2 separate regions of the Homo sapiens genome follow, and region 1 is linked to region 2. The links are contacts of gene promoters, found by promoter capture Hi-C in blood cells and fetal thymus (Javierre and others, 2016). All regions are on one chromosome and are shown on one strand. The core of a region is centred on a gene start or on the middle of the fragment in contact, and the rest is flanking DNA. Distances in the headings are between cores, read along the strand shown.

The links. Contacts are between HindIII fragments. The CHiCAGO score rates a contact against its expected background, and 5 or more counts as called.
Region 1: a contact is called between a fragment that was not itself captured here and the fragment with the promoter of MOGS in region 2, in 1 of 17 cell types (naive CD4 T cells). The highest score is 6.0, in naive CD4 T cells.

The regions. Positions count from the first base shown.
Region 1 is chr2:74,250,284-74,253,739 of GRCh38, forward strand. It overlaps SLC4A5 (solute carrier family 4 member 5), which reads right to left. Exons shown (of 31, transcript NM_133478.3): 15 at 2,691-2,845; 16 at 1,896-2,105; 17 at 60-234. Among named protein-coding and RNA genes, the nearest start is that of MTHFD2, 53 kb to the left of the region's middle. RefSeq lists enhancers at 19-188, 239-298. The HindIII fragment of the contact is 4,323 bases long and covers 1-3,456 here.
Region 2 is chr2:74,463,910-74,467,133 of GRCh38, forward strand. MOGS (mannosyl-oligosaccharide glucosidase) reads right to left here and starts at 1,473. Exons shown (of 4, transcript NM_006302.3): 1 at 987-1,473; 2 at 587-813. The coding sequence starts at 1,338. RefSeq lists a silencer at 1,040-1,259. The HindIII fragment of the contact is 14,256 bases long and covers 1-3,224 here.

The DNA.
Region 1 (3,456 bases), core at 904-3,403, 210 kb before region 2:
GCTGCCACCAGGTGGCGGCAGATCTTACTTTTACACTCAGGGCACCGGCTCGCACACACCTGATAATTGTCGGTGGCATCCCCCAGAAGCCCACCAAAGGTGATCGCGTTGGTGATACAGCCGAGGTAGATGAATAGGATGGCAGAGATGGACTGAATGTGGAAGCCATCATAGAAGTCACTTGGGAACCAGGGCAACTTCCTCTTGATATCCAGACACAGGCCACCGAAGAACCTGCTCAAGACAGGCCCAGGGGCTGCTTTCTCACCACTAACACCAGTGCAGGGGCAGGGCTATTTACAAGAACTTGCAGAGTCTGGGGCGAGGAAAGGAACTTGACCAGGGTGGATGGGGCAAAGATCTTTCCACCAGAACATTTAGGGCCAGGGATGAATTCCTGTAGGACTGAGTTTGTGGTTGGCACCACCCACATTGGGAAGGGTGGACATAGAGGGTTTTGGAGAGGGAAAGTCTGATGGGAATATGTCCTGGGGTAGACCTAACATTCCATGGAGAATGGAAGTCCTGGGGTCCACAGATGGTGGTCCTCCTCACATCCCTGACCATCTGCAGGGTGCCTGCTCTTGGTGAACACAGGAGTGTCTAACTTTCGGTGACAGAAGCATCCCAGATTATAACAGATTCATTAAGAACAGATCCTAAACCTTATAACTGGTTGGTATTTGTTTGTTTTTTGATTTTGCTATCTGGAACAGCTGAGTGGAAGATTTTAGGTTTGGAGACACTGTTTACTGGGATTGCTATTCCCATAGCCCCTAATGCAGTCCTTAGCATGGAGCAGAGTTTCTCAACCTCAGTTCTGCTGATATTTTGGACTGGATACTCCTTTGCTGCAGGGGCTGTCCCATGCACTGCAGGATGTTTAGCAGCTACCTACTAGATGCGAGTAGCATCTCCCCTCTCCGGTTGTGACAAGCAAAAATGTCTCTGGACATTGCCAAATTCCCTGGGCTCGGGGGTAGGGGGACTAAGGAGGGCCAAAGCTGCTTACAGTGAGAACCACTGGTATAAAGCCAAGGGCATATAAAACATGACTTCATTCTCAAAGTCATGATTTATATGTAGATTTTCAAGGCCACATCCTTTCCTAAATCTAGATCAACCTGAATGACTCCAAGAGCTGGAAAAGAAACCCAGGCCAGGAGAACTTTCTCTTATTTTCTTTAAAAAAAAAAAAAGTTTTTGAATAGGTAAATTAAGTTTTAAAAAAGGTACTGTTATTGAGTTGTGTCCCCCCAAAAGATATATTAAGGTCCTAACATCTATGTAACACCTATGCAAATGTAATCCAGTTTAGATTAAGTCATTATGGTGGGCCCTATTCCAACATGACTGGGGTCCATACACAAAGAGGAAAGTGCTCTGTGAAGACAGACACACAGGAGGCCATGTGGTGGAGAGGCAGAGCCGGGGGTGATGCGGCTGCCAGCCAGGAACACCAAGGACTGCTGGCCACCACCAGAAGCCAGGAGGAGGCCAGGAAGGATTCCACCTGGAGCCTCAGGGAGCACGGTGGTCCTGCCAACACCTGCTGTGGAACTCCTGGCCTCCAGAACTGCAGGAGAGTAACCTTCTGTGGTTTTAAGCCACCTAGTTTGTGGTACTTTGTTACAGCAGACCCAGGAAACAGGCACCAAAGGATATCTAAGAGAAAAGTTTGGGTTCCTCTCCTCTTGTATGGGTCTCAAATTCCCCTCTCCTGAGGCAACCTTTTGGGGATCCATGATGGGGTTCAAGGGCTCTGGGAGGGAAAGAAGGCAGGGGTGACCTCGAGTGGGCACTACAGACCATGGTTGGGAAAAGTCCCTAGAGGGCAGCTGAGAAGGGAGAAGTCTAAAGGACAGCAGGGTCACTGGGAGGCCTGGGGTGGGCACCTTCCTGTCCAGATAAGTTCCTCCCCGATTTCATGCATGGCTGGCATCTCTCCATCATCCCCGCTGCTTGTTCCGCCGGCCCCGCCACTGCCAGCCCCGCCGCCACTGCCACCACCACCACCACCTCCATTGCCTCCTCCAGGAGCTCCGCCGCCTCCTCCCACAGAGCCATTCATCTGGCCCAGCTCTGCTAGGGAGAACACAGATTTCCTGGAAGAGAAGGGGGATGAAGGAGAGTGGGTCCCCCAGAGCACCCCTCACCTCTCCAACCAAAATTATGAAATATCTTAAAAGACAGACAAAAATGCAGAAAATTGTCTAACAATATCCACACGCAGGTCACCTAGATTTTACAAATGTTCACATTTAGCCATATTTGTTTCTGATATATCTTATTATTTTTAAACTTATTTTAAACATTATTTTGAGACAGGGTCAAACTCTGTTGCCCAGGCTGGAGTACAGTGGCATGATCACAGCTCACTGCAGCCTTGACCTCCTGGGCTCAATCAATCCTCCTGCCTCAGCCTCCAGAGTAGCAGGGACTATAGGTGCATGCCACCATGCCCAGTTAATTTGATTTTTGTTTTGTAGAGACAAGATCTCACTATGTTGCCCAGGCTGGTTTCAAACTCCTGGGCTCAAGTGATCCACCTGCCTCAGCATCCCAAAGTGTTGAGATTACAGGCATGAGCCACTATGCTGAGCCTCAGATGTATTTTAAAGAGAAATAAAATGATACCGACAGAGTTGAAGCCTCCTTTTTCTCTCCCTACTGCCCATTCTCATACACACCTCTTGTCAGCAGAGGGCACCTTCTTGGGGGGCTCAATCCGGATATTTGGGTCCCATTCTCCAGGAGGAAGGACGATGACCTCATCCAGAAATTCATCAATTCCTGCGATCAGATCTTCCCGATTGCGGGCTTTGTAGGCCACGTCACTGAAGAGCTGGCGAGGAGAGAGGAGGGAGAAAAGAAAGATCGGGTCTGTTTCTGAAATGCCTGGGAGCATATCACATCTAGTTTTTAAAGGAATCCCTTTGAACCACATCTCCCACTGCCAACTCACTCTCAGTTTTTGGAATGAGACTATAGTACATTGGTAAAATATGGCACAATGGGACACAGCAGGCACTGGGGGAAGACAGCCTCTCTTGGATCTGAAGGCCAGGTCTCCATATTCTTGCTTGTAGGACTTCGGTTAAGTTACTTAACCTTTCTGTTTTCAGTTTTCCACACATCATACATATTAGAAAACCTTTGTAGAGCCCAGTCCAAGGAGCTCAGATATTTCATAACCATTTTTTACTTCCAGCCCTTCGCCCTTGGAGGCTCAGGCCGTGTTCTTCACACTGTCTCCAGAGTGTGCTTTCTGACTTACAGATTCGATGGGACTATGCTCACATTTAACCCTTTCCCATTTAGGCAAAAAAAAAAAGTGCAGCTCACTGCCAGCACTCATTTAATTTTACATAAACACACTCTTTGAGGCCGAAGCAAATCTGACTGATTTTCAATGTGAAAATGCAATATAAAAATTATTCTTAGAATTATTTCTAA
Region 2 (3,224 bases), core at 223-2,722:
GCCTCAGCCTCCCAAAGTGCTGGGATTACAGGCGTGAGCCACCGCGCCTGGCTTTTTTTTTTTTCTTGAGATGGAGTTTTGCTCTTGTTGCCCAGGCTGGAGTGCAATGGCACGATCTCGGCTCAGCGCAACCTCCACCTCCCTGGTTCAAGCAATTCTCCTGCCTCAGCCTCCCAAGTAGCTTGGATCACAGGCATGCGCCACCACGCCCGGCTAATTTTATATTTTCAGTAGAGACGGTGTTTCTCCATTTTGGTCAGGCTGGTCTGGAACTCCTGACCTCAGGTGATCCGCCAGCCTCGGCCTCCCAAAGTACTGGGATTACAGGCGTGAGCCACCGCGCCCAGCCTCTTTTTCATTTAATTCTTACAGTCCTGTGAGTTAAGTGCTATTATTATCTACATTGTACATTTTACAAGCAAGGAAATCAAGGCTTAGAGATGGTAAATAGAAATGGTTATACAGGCAGTTGTTTAAGGCAGGATTTAAGCCAGGCAGCCAGAGCCCACTTCATGCTGCATTTGCTGGCAGCAAGGGAAGGATGGAGGGGGTCTGGGCTGAGAAAAGGGTGTCCTGAGGCCCTGACCTGAGGCTCTACAGTCACTCTCCAGCTCCAGTCCCCTCCGTGCTGACCCCCAGGCCTCTTGACGAACTCAGTGGTGAGCCTTAAGGCCCCATCCTGGATGTGTTGGCGCCCGAAGGAGAGGCCGTCGTGGAACTCCCAGCCATAGGGACCCACACCGTCCCCCTGCTCACACGTGTGCCTGAGCTTAGGAGTCCCCGGGGTGGTGCCCTGCTGCGCCCACATCAGTCCTGGGGGTAGAATGGCCACGTAAGTCAAAGAGCAGGGGACCTGTCCCTCCGGGTCTCCGGGTCATCCCTCTTCATAACTCTCCTGATCCATTCCTTCCCACCCTTGCTCTCGCTTCAAGCTGGGGCGCCCAGATTAGGAGTCCGCCTGCCTGCCCGCCCTGGGGCCCGGTTACCGGTGAGGAGGGGCTTCGGGCTGCGGGTCTTCATGCCGAAGTAGACGTGAGGGCGGTAGGTTCCCCAGAAGAGGTCCGGGGCCACGGCGGGGCTGGAGGAGTCGGCAGGCAACACAGGAGGCGCGGAGTGCAGCGTGACCGCCCGCCGCGCACGGTACCACGCCAGCACCCAGCGCCCCGACATACCCAGGGCCAAAGACAGGACCACGACGGCCAGAGCCACTCCTCCAGCCGTGCTACGCGGCCCGCCGCCCCGGCCGTCCCGTCGCCCGGGGCCTCCCCGAGCCGCCCTCTCGGCTGTCCGCACTCCCTCTGCCGGCACTGCGCGGCGCCGCCGCTCGCCCCGAGCCATCCTGGCACTGAGGTCCGCGTCACAAGAGCTCGGAGAGGCGGCAGTGGAGCCCGGGTCCTGCCTCACCTCTCCGGCTCCCGCCTCTCGCCCTGGCGACCACCGTCCGGTTAGCGACACCTGCCAGCCAGCGCCTGCGCCTCCGCCTCCGCCTCCCGCCGGAAGTCCCGCCCCGCCACGTTAGGTTAAGTCCCAGAGTCCGGAACCGCTGCCTGCGGCTTGACACAGGGTTGGTACGTAGCGTCTGTCCTGGGCGTTGGTCCACCGGGATTGCGTTTATCTGGCGACCCCATGGAGTTCACAGGCTCGGAAAAACCAATCTAACGTTGGGCTGAGGCATGAGAATCGTTTGAACCCGGGAGGCGGAGGTTGCAGTGAGCCGAGATTGTGCCACTGCACTCCAGCCTGGGCGACAGAGCGAGACTTCGTCTCAAAAAAAAAAAAAAAAGACTGATGTGGCCAGGCACCGAGGCGCACATCTGTAATCCCAGCACTTTGGGAGGCCGAGGCAGGTGGATCACCAGACATGAGGAGTTGGAGACCAGCCTGGTCAACTTGGTGAAACCCCATCTCTACTAAAAATACAAAAATTAGCCGGGTGTGGTGGTGGGTGCCTGTAATCCCAGCTATTCGGGAGGCTGAGGCAGGAGAATTGCTTGAACCTGGGAGGCGGAGGTTGCAGTGAGCCGATATTGCGCCATTGCACTCCAGCTTGGGCAACAAGAGTGAAACTGTTTCAAAAAAAAAGAAAGAGAGAGAGAGAGAGAGATGGAGGGAGGGAGGGAGGGACGGAGGGAGAGAGAGAGAGAGAGAGAGAGACTGATGCTTTATGCAACACGACCACTTATATTTCACTATAATCTGACTGGTGGCCCCACTCTCCACTAGTGGTAGACTTTTTGCTTATGAAATCATCTGACCAAACCCAATGGTTAGTCCTGTTTTTGTCTTTCTTGCTACCGTTGCATTTGTCGACATCCTTATTGTAGCACTTATTACATACCTGTTTCATTTTTCATCTTTGTATCACAGTACTAATCAATTATAGGCATAAGGCAGATGCTAAATATTTATAAATTCAACACATGTTTATTGTACACCCTATATCGCATTATGCAAGGTGCTGGGGACTCAGAGAAAATGGCCCCAACCTCAAGTTCACAGTCTAGAAGCACAATGCCAGCACTCAATGCATGTTGAACCATACCCATTTTTTTTTTTTTTTTTTTTTTGAGACGGAGTCTCGCTCTGTCACCAGGCTGGAGTGCAATGGCATGATCTCGGCTCACTGCAACCTCTGCCTCCAGGGTTCAAGTGATTCTCCTGCCTCAGCCTCACGAGTAGCTGGGATTACAGGTGCCCACCACCACGCCCAGCTAATTTTTGTATTTTTAGTAGAGATGGAGTTTCACCAGGTTTGCCAGGCTGGTCTCGAACTCCTGACCTCAGGTGATCCACCCACCTCGGCCTCCCAAAGTGCTGGGATTACAGGCGTGAGCCACCGCGCCTGGCCAGACCACCCCCATTTTTACAGATGAGGAGAGTAGTTAAGACTGACCCAAAATAACAGCCAGTTAATTATGGAGCTGGGGAACTCAAATCCAGGTTGTTCTTTTGACTTTAGAATAAGGCCTCTTAGGGCAGGCGCAGTGGCTCAAGCCTGTAGTCCCAGCACTTTGGGAGGCAAAGGCGGGCGGATCACCTGAGGCTGGGAGTTCGAGACCAGCCTGACCGACATGGAGAAACCCCGTCTCTACTAAAAAATACAAAATTATCTGGGCATGGTGGTGCATGCCTGTAATCCCAGCTACTCGTGACACTGAGGCAGGAGAATCACTTGAACCCGGGAGGCAGAGATTGCAGTGAGCCAAGATTGTGCCATTGCACTC